Linked DNA regions of Homo sapiens: region 2 is linked to region 1. Evidence: promoter capture Hi-C in human tissues and cell types (Jung and others, 2019). All regions are on one chromosome and are shown on one strand. Each heading gives the region's core, a stretch centred on a gene start or on the middle of the fragment in contact. The rest is flanking DNA. Distances are from core to core; before and after follow the strand shown.

What was found. The method cuts DNA at HindIII sites, captures the fragments that hold promoters and counts their contacts. A contact is called where the count stands out against the background at its distance.
Region 2: a contact is called between a fragment that was not itself captured here and the fragment with the promoter of MYOD1 in region 1, in 2 of the 25 tissues and cell types used here (H1 embryonic stem cells and mesendoderm cells).

The regions. Positions count from the first base shown.
Region 1 is chr11:17,717,479-17,722,614 of GRCh38, forward strand. It overlaps MYOD1 (myogenic differentiation 1), which reads left to right and starts at 2,093. Exons shown (of 3, transcript NM_002478.5): 1 at 2,093-2,934; 2 at 3,424-3,502; 3 at 3,777-4,658. The coding sequence starts at 2,305. The coding sequence ends at 4,030. RefSeq lists enhancers at 3,042-3,553, 3,554-4,065. The HindIII fragment of the contact is 9,376 bases long and covers 1-5,136 here.
Region 2 is chr11:17,883,679-17,888,294 of GRCh38, forward strand. The region is part of intron 9 of SERGEF (secretion regulating guanine nucleotide exchange factor); the gene reads right to left. Among named protein-coding and RNA genes, the nearest start is that of SERGEF, 130 kb to the right of the region's middle. The HindIII fragment of the contact is 4,469 bases long and covers 781-4,616 here.

The sequences.
Region 1 (5,136 bases), core at 843-3,342:
TCACTCCATAATCTTCATCACTGTGTCTCCCTGCCTTGCTTTTTCTTCATAAGGCTTCTAACCTCCTGGCATCACATACTTCCTTGCTTATTTGTTCATTGTCTATCACCCTGCTTACATTGACAATGTAAGTGCCATGTAAGCAGAGTCTTGGTTTTGTTCATTGCTCTAGCCCCACACTTGGACTGGTACCTGCCACATAATGGATACCTAACAATATGTGGATTTCCGGGTGACCCCCTGCAGCTTGGGTGGGGTGAGGCCAGGACTTTGCTGCCTCTGCCAGGATTTAGAGTTACTGTCACTGCTGCTCCATGATGTAGACTTTACTGAATGAACAAATACAGGTGGGCCCTATGGAGTAAAGCGAGGTGAGTACTTCATGAAGGGAGACCTTCAGCACCACTACCAGCAGCAGAGAAGTGAAGAAGTTAGGACCCCAACAGAGCCCTCTGAGTTTTGTGGGAAGGGAGGACTTCTTAGGGCCCAGAACGGCCAGCTAGAATGCCTTCCAGAAGTTAGTGGGAAAGGCACAAAGATCACTCCTGCTTAAATTTCTGGTTTCCAGGAGGGGAGATCCAGGCAGGGATGTATGGCCAACGGAGATTCCTAGCCAGAGTGCTGAGAGGACTGTGTGAACTGCAGATTCAGGAAGAGGCTGAGAGACCCCCATGGGGGTGGCCGGTATGCTGAGGCTTGTATGGGAGCCAGATATCCCACATCCCATGGGGTGGTTGCCTCCTCCTGTTTCCAGCCTTTCCAGTGAGGCTGCAGGAAAGAGACACAGCTAAGGCCTGGAGACTCGTGGCACTCCGTCAGGGCATGGTACCACAGATGAGTTGTAAGCCTGCGGGACACAGCATCCAACTCTGAAAGCCCCTTGCTCGAATAACCCTACATCACCGCCTGAGGGCTTCCATATCCTTGGTCTCTTCAGACTGTCATCCCCACCACAATTACTCCAAGAAATTACTGTCATCCCCAAATCTATAACTGGAAACTGAGGCTCAGGAAGGAGACATGACTTCCACAAAATCACACAGTTGGGAAACTCTGGAGTCTGCACTCAACTGGTCTGCAAACCGCACTCTCGGAGACTTCAGGTGAGATGAGGTCAGGTTCTCAGGCCAGGTCCTGAAGTTTGACACCTTGGCGAAATGCACTTTCCTTGACTCAGCACCGCGAGTGAGGCGGAGCCAAGCCCCGAGCAGAAGGGTTTTCTTCCCAGCTGAAGAGGCAGCTCAGCCTAGACCCCAGGCATGGCACTGGACACCCCTGCTGTGGAAACGTGCAGATTTAGATGGAGGGGATTCCTAACCTGGGCAGGATCCGAGTTTGGAGAGATTGGCGCGAAGCTTTAGCAGCAATCTCCGATTCCTGTACAACCATAGCTGGGTTTCTAAGCGTCTAGGGAAGAAGGACTGGGCCCACGACCTGCTGAGCAACTCCCAGGTCGGGGACTGGCGGAATATCAGAGCCTCTACGACCCGTTTGTCTCGGGCTCGCCCACTTCAACTCTCGGGGTCTCTCCGCCTGTTGTTGCACTCGTGCGTTTCTCTGCCCCTGACGCTCTAAGCTTTCTGCTTTCTGCGTGTCTCTCAGCCTCTTTCGGTCCCTCTTTCACGGTCTCACTCCTCAGCTCTGTGCCCCCAATGCCTTGCCTCTCTCCAAATCTCTCACGACCTGATTTCTACAGCCGCTCTACCCATGGGTCCCCCACAAATCAGGGGACAGAGGAGTATTGAAAGTCAGCTCAGAGGTGAGCGCGCGCAGCCAGCGTTTCCCGCGGATACAGCAGTCGGGTGTTGGAGAGGTTTGGAAAGGGCGTGCCGGAGAGCCAAGTGCAGCCGCCTAGGGCTGCCGGTCGCTCCCTCCCTCCCTGCCCGGTAGGGGACCTAGCGCGCACGCCAGTGTGGAGGGGCGGGCTGGCTGGCCAGTCTGCGGGCCCCTGCGGCCACCCCGGGGACCCCCCCAAGCCCCGCCCCGCAGTGTTCCTATTGGCCTCGGACTCCCCCTCCCCCAGCTGCCCGCCTGGGCTCCGGGGCGTTTAGGCTACTACGGATAAATAGCCCAGGGCGCCTGGCGAGAAGCTAGGGGTGAGGAAGCCCTGGGGCGCTGCCGCCGCTTTCCTTAACCACAAATCAGGCCGGACAGGAGAGGGAGGGGTGGGGGACAGTGGGTGGGCATTCAGACTGCCAGCACTTTGCTATCTACAGCCGGGGCTCCCGAGCGGCAGAAAGTTCCGGCCACTCTCTGCCGCTTGGGTTGGGCGAAGCCAGGACCGTGCCGCGCCACCGCCAGGATATGGAGCTACTGTCGCCACCGCTCCGCGACGTAGACCTGACGGCCCCCGACGGCTCTCTCTGCTCCTTTGCCACAACGGACGACTTCTATGACGACCCGTGTTTCGACTCCCCGGACCTGCGCTTCTTCGAAGACCTGGACCCGCGCCTGATGCACGTGGGCGCGCTCCTGAAACCCGAAGAGCACTCGCACTTCCCCGCGGCGGTGCACCCGGCCCCGGGCGCACGTGAGGACGAGCATGTGCGCGCGCCCAGCGGGCACCACCAGGCGGGCCGCTGCCTACTGTGGGCCTGCAAGGCGTGCAAGCGCAAGACCACCAACGCCGACCGCCGCAAGGCCGCCACCATGCGCGAGCGGCGCCGCCTGAGCAAAGTAAATGAGGCCTTTGAGACACTCAAGCGCTGCACGTCGAGCAATCCAAACCAGCGGTTGCCCAAGGTGGAGATCCTGCGCAACGCCATCCGCTATATCGAGGGCCTGCAGGCTCTGCTGCGCGACCAGGACGCCGCGCCCCCTGGCGCCGCAGCCGCCTTCTATGCGCCGGGCCCGCTGCCCCCGGGCCGCGGCGGCGAGCACTACAGCGGCGACTCCGACGCGTCCAGCCCGCGCTCCAACTGCTCCGACGGCATGGTAAGGCCGGGACCCCAGGAAGTGAGGAAGTTAGGGCGGCGCTCGGGATATCAGGGACGCGTTTCCGAGGGCGGGGAGCTGGCCTTGCGGGAGGTTTGGGCCAGGATCCTTCCCGAGAGAGAGGACCCCCTTGTCCTGGGCAGCTGTCACTGGGGTAGCCTGTTTTGGAAGTGTGCGGGCAAGCGTTCGAGCTGCCCCATTGGGGGCGCTATTAGAACACTGCAGCGCGAACGTGAAGATCTTTTTCTCTACTTATCCCTACTTCCAAAATGTAAATTTGCGCCCCTTGGTGACTGTCCGCCCTTGGTTTGGCCCTGCATGTTGCAGACCTCATCTCCTACCCACCCGTAATTACCCCCCCAACCAGGACAGGTCTGGGCCCGGAACTAGAGCCTTAGGCTAGAGTTAGGGAGGGGGCGGCTACAGGAATTGGTGTTCGGGCCTCGAGCCGTCCCGCGGGCCTGACTCAGTCGCCCTTGCTGTTTGCAGATGGACTACAGCGGCCCCCCGAGCGGCGCCCGGCGGCGGAACTGCTACGAAGGCGCCTACTACAACGAGGCGCCCAGCGGTGGGTATTCCGGGCCTCTCCCTGCTCGCTCCTCCTCCTTCATGGAGCTGTCCTGGCCTCTATCTAGGACGCTCCCACCCCCACTCACACACGCCTATGTCCTGGGAAGTGGTGCAGGAGATGAAATACTAAGCAAGTAGCTCCCTGTCTTTTGGATTGTCCCGGACTCTAACTAAAGTCCTCAGTTTCCAATCTGTCTCAAAGTACTGGGCCCGGGGGTGGGAGGCTTGTCGCGGCCCCACCCCTGCTTACTAACCGAGCCCTCCCCGCGCAGAACCCAGGCCCGGGAAGAGTGCGGCGGTGTCGAGCCTAGACTGCCTGTCCAGCATCGTGGAGCGCATCTCCACCGAGAGCCCTGCGGCGCCCGCCCTCCTGCTGGCGGACGTGCCTTCTGAGTCGCCTCCGCGCAGGCAAGAGGCTGCCGCCCCCAGCGAGGGAGAGAGCAGCGGCGACCCCACCCAGTCACCGGACGCCGCCCCGCAGTGCCCTGCGGGTGCGAACCCCAACCCGATATACCAGGTGCTCTGAGGGGATGGTGGCCGCCCACCCGCCCGAGGGATGGTGCCCCTAGGGTCCCTCGCGCCCAAAAGATTGAACTTAAATGCCCCCCTCCCAACAGCGCTTTAAAAGCGACCTCTCTTGAGGTAGGAGAGGCGGGAGAACTGAAGTTTCCGCCCCCGCCCCACAGGGCAAGGACACAGCGCGGTTTTTTCCACGCAGCACCCTTCTCGGAGACCCATTGCGATGGCCGCTCCGTGTTCCTCGGTGGGCCAGAGCTGAACCTTGAGGGGCTAGGTTCAGCTTTCTCGCGCCCTCCCCCATGGGGGTGAGACCCTCGCAGACCTAAGCCCTGCCCCGGGATGCACCGGTTATTTGGGGGGGCGTGAGACCCAGTGCACTCCGGTCCCAAATGTAGCAGGTGTAACCGTAACCCACCCCCAACCCGTTTCCCGGTTCAGGACCACTTTTTGTAATACTTTTGTAATCTATTCCTGTAAATAAGAGTTGCTTTGCCAGAGCAGGAGCCCCTGGGGCTGTATTTATCTCTGAGGCATGGTGTGTGGTGCTACAGGGAATTTGTACGTTTATACCGCAGGCGGGCGAGCCGCGGGCGCTCGCTCAGGTGATCAAAATAAAGGCGCTAATTTATACCGCCGTGGCTCCGGCTTTCCCTGGACATGGGTGTGGGATCCGGAGGAAAATCCGCAAACTGGGCCAGCTGTCCCTCAGCGACGCCTGTAGGCGGCAGGCGGATTGCAAGGAGGAAGCCTGCTGCCTGGGGAAGGAAGGAGGGGTGCAAATTTCTCCAGTACGTGAGGAAGTTCCTCTGACCTTGACTACATTACTACACACGTCCGTGGCTCTTATGGAAGGGTACACAGGTTGATATGAGTATTTTTTAAACCCATGTCTGAGCTCGCCCCCTAGATATTCTGATTTAATGTTTCTGCCCCATATACCCAGGGCCAGGTATTGGTATTTTTTTTCAAAAGCTCCCCAAGTGATTCTGAAGTTCATTCAAGGCTGAGAATCATCCCCTCCATATAAAGTGAGTGAACCCAGGTGTGATAACCAGAAGAACCACGGGAAGGTTGTGGCCCAGGCATCACTTGGGGGCCTCGTTGGGTATAGAG
Region 2 (4,616 bases), core at 1,765-4,264, 170 kb after region 1:
ACCACCCATCCAGTTCCCTTACATCTGGCAAGCCCAGTGCCAGGGACGTAAGCCTGGGAGAGCCCTAGATTTATAGGACCCAAACAACATCCTGCCTAGGGCTAGGAGTGCCCACCTCTGGAATGATCAAGGAGCTGTTTCCAGGGATATTTCTTAGGGGAACGGCTGCAAAGTGGCAACAAAGTTCTGTCGCCTGCCCTCCTCATGGATACCCATGGCGACAGAACGCCGCCAGATTGTTCAAATCTGAACATTCTAAACGGGGAAATCGGGGCGCGGAAGAGTGGGGTGGGAAACGAACACCGGGTTGCGGACCAGAACTCAGGGTCAGGTACGCCAAGGAGAGGAAGTGAGGCGAGGCCAGCCCCACGCCACCAGCCAGGGGCCGCTTTCCTCTACCAGAGAGGGGTAGCCAGCCGCAGCCCAAAGGCCACCCAGGGTGCCAGATGGACAGCGAGGCCTGCTGATTGGTTCTCGCCGGGTGCCAATGAGCCCGGGCGCCTTCAGGTGCTATGGCAACGAGGCGTACGTGCGGAAACACATGATGGCCAGGGTGGAAGGGGAGTAACGGGGTTTAGGTTGGTACGGTACTGGGTTATGCTCTGTGCCGCACTGCGAGCCCTTGGCGGGCACAGCCGCCAGGGTGGGAGAAGCGTACCAGAAGCAGCTCCAGAATGGCAGCCCCAGCTGGCTGGGCAGCCTGCGCCGCCTGGGTTAACAGGGCGAGGGAATGGGCGTCTCGGTGCCGCCTTTGCTAGAGCTCTGCCCAAACCCGGTTTCCATCCGTGTATCTCTGGGGTGACAACCAGAATTTCCAAACTATTAGAAACGCAGTGCTTGGAAGCTGGGCACGTTTTACAGGCACACTGCAATCCAGTGAGCCACCAGAGTTCCACCTCTAAGCTCAGAAATGGTCCCAACTGGGGAAGGCCATGGCGACACCAGAGAGGCAGCACGGCTGTTTGCTTCTGGAAGAACCTAGCCTTACTAAGATATCTTTAACTCTCTCTGTGGGCTTGAATTTGTATTTTATTTCATATATATGTGTATATGTTATATATACATTTTTAAAAAAAGCACATTGTATGTATGCCTGTGAAAAAAATGAGCTTGAACTAGGTTCTGCTATCTTCCAGAGAAGTTGGGGTGAGAAGAAGAGAGCTAAAGTTTGGTTAAGTGCCTGGATGTCAAGCATGTGACATTATAGAATTTCACTTTACCTGCAATACCTCCCATCTTCACAGCCACTCTGAGAAGTGGGAATCTGTCTCCCTACATAGCAGGCCAGCAAACCCGCTCAGAGCAGTTAAGTCACTGGTCCCAGGTCTGCTTTGGTCCAAAGCCTGTAAGCTAACTCACTACACATACTGCCTCCTCCTCCTCTGATACTCTCCTCTTTTGATACAGAGTGTCCCTGTCACAAAGGCTCAAACTCTCAAGTGACAGTTCTAACTCTTTTCCTTATCTCTCTCCCACCCTTATATTTAGGCTGTCTCCAGATCCTGTTAATCCTGCCTTCTCAATGGTTCTCAAGTCTGACTTATTTCCAGCTGCTATCATCTTAGTTTAGTCCTTTTCGCCTCAGCCTGGAGTCTTAGCAACCAATGACTTTAAGCTTTCTTCTCACCATAATATCATGATCTGATCTGTTTTTGTTTTTAGAGACAGGGTCTTGCTCTATTGCCCAGGCTGGAGTGCAGTGGTGTGAACCTAGCTCACTATAACCTCGAATTCCTGGGCTCAAGCGACCCTTCTGCCTTAGCTTCCTGAGTAGCGAGGACTACAGGTACACACCACTATGCCTGGCCAATTTTTTTTTTTACTTCTTGTAGGAACAGGATCTCATCATGTTGTCCAGACTGCTTGAACTCCTGGCTTCAAGCGACCCTCCTCCCTCGGCCTCTCAAAGTTCTGGGATAACAGGCATGACCCACCGTACATGCATGGGCATGATCTGATTTTTTTTTTAATTAAAGTTGTCACAGTTATCAAAGTCTCATTACTGTTTAACACACATTTTACCACTCCTTTCCTAAATAAACCCTCTAACCCAGCAACACGAGTCTCTTTTCTGTCTCTGGAAAAATCTCATTTCCCCCACTTTTGTATCTTCATTTGTACCATTCTCCCTTCTCCATACCATTCTAAATCCAACCAACTCTACAAGGCCTAGTTCAAAACCTGAGGCAGTCCCCCAGATCACCTCAGCCTTTAGGAGATCTGCCTCCTCTCAATTCTCACCACTTGCCTTGGCTATAGTTTGCTTTTATCAAATCTCCTTTGTGCTTTTAACAGCTTGGACACGAGTATGGGGCATGTCAGTGTGAGGTAATGGAGAGAGTTCTGGATATGGAACCAGAAAACCTGGATTTAAGTCCTGATGCCCCCCGCCCCCACTTCCTAGCCATGTGACTTTGGGTAAATCTCTTTGCCTCCCTCTGGCCCTCAGTTCCCTCATCTGTAAAACGGAATTCAAACAACCAGGTATACCTCACGCATCCTAACCTCTGCTATCTACAGAATAAAATTCACTTTGGGCTTGACCCTGTTCTACAGATACATTTTAGGACTTATATATTATTTGAGAACATATGAAAGGAGACTATAAGCATTAGCAACTGGCATAGGTTCACTATGAAGAGTTCTTCAAGCTGGACACGGTGGCACACATCTGTAATCCCGGCACTTTAGGAGGCTGAGGCAAGCAGATAGCTTGAGCTCATGAGTTCAAGACCAGCCTGGGCAACATGGCGAAACCCTGTCTCTACAGAAAATACAACAAAATTAGCCCGGCGTGGTGAAGTGTGCCTGTAGTCCCAGCTAGTTGGAAGACTGAAGTGGTGTGGTAGGATCACTTAACCTGGGAGGCGAAGGTTGCAGTGAACCGAGATCATACCACTGTACTCCAGCCTGGGCGAGTACTAAAAGCGAGACTAAAAACAAAACAAAACAAACAAACAAAAAAACCTTCTTCAGTATAAACAGTTCATTTCCTTTTCCAATAGTTTATTGACAGATAAGGAGAGGGCTTGAGAAATGTCTACTGAATTAGAATATAATATACACAGTAATTAGGCTATAATATATACAATTAAACTAGCCAGGCAGTCAGACTGCTTGCTTTTCCCATAGTGCCCTTCTAAGGGAATGTCTTCATCATAAATGGCCGTGTTGATACCATGCAGTCCTGCTTCCTGGGGCCAAACCTAATTGGACTATGGATGGACACCTGTCTCAATGTGGATTAATGCATAGATTGACCACAGCCTGTGAAACGGCTTAGTGAAAATTCTGCCTTGAAACAGTTCTAGGGAGTGAGTCCTCCAGTTGGTAGCTGGAGCAGTAGCTGGAAGAAATAGACACAAGGAAGGTTAAGATGAGGAGGAGGTACAAGCAGAGGAGTCAGAAGCAGCAGGAAGGAACAGTAAAGTGAAGCTAAGTCACCAGGATGTGAGTTCTAAAGGAAGAATCAATAGATCCTACTGCTGAGGGCTCAAGAAGGTTTAGGCTTTTGAGTTGCCTTGGGTTCTAAATGACTTTCCCATTGTTCTTTTATAAGGCATTTGCTTCACCTGTTTTCCTCACTTATGCTAAAGTACAATACAGTCTTCACAATAATAATCTGCTAATATCTCTGGTCCTTGCCAACTAAAAAAGCCTAACACAACAATACATCTGGATTTCAGTAAAGGCATGCCACCAAGTTACTTAAGTTACTCAGTACTTGTACTGAGAACAAAATGGAACCATGTGAGTTGGACAATCAAACTAAAAGACAGGCAATTAATAGATTCAGGCCAGGTAAATATCCTATGGCAGGCTTCTCAGAAACAATTTAACCCTTTCCCTAGTAGCCATGATAGGTTAAAATTAAAAGACTGTCAACACCAAGTACTAACGAGGATGTGAAATAACTGGAACTCTTACACTGCTGACGGGAGTGTAAATTCAACAACTGCTTGGAAAAACTGTCTGGCAGTATCTACTAAAGCTAAACACATATGTGGACACTCAAGTACCCAAAATAAATTATTGCTTACTTCTATCAAAAGGCATGTACAAGCATGTTCATAGCAGTTTTATTCATAATAAAAATATGAAATAACACAAATATTCATCATCAGTATAATGGATACAGTGTAGTTCATTCAGAATACTTTACAGCAGGGGTCCCCAACCCCTAGGCTGCAGACTGGTAAAATTCCACGGCCTGTTAGGAACCAGGCCACACAGCAGGAGGTAAGCAGCAGGCAAGGGAGCGAAGCTTCATCTGTATTTACGGCTGCTTCCCATCGCTCACATTACCATCTGAGCTCCGCCTCCTGTCAGATCAGCGGTGGCATTAGATTCTCATATGAGCACAAACCCTATTGTGAACTCCGCGTGGGAGGGATCTAGGCTGCGCAATCCTTATGAGACTCTAACTAATGCCTGGTGATCTGAGGTGGAACAGTTTCATCCCGAAACCATCCCATCCCCACCTCTTCCAGGAAACCGGCCCCTAGTGCCAAAAAGGTTGGGGACTGCTGCTTTACAGCAGTGGGGGGAAATATTGATATTCACAACATAAGTAAATCTTTAAGAATAATAATATGAAACTCAAAAGTAGGCAAAAC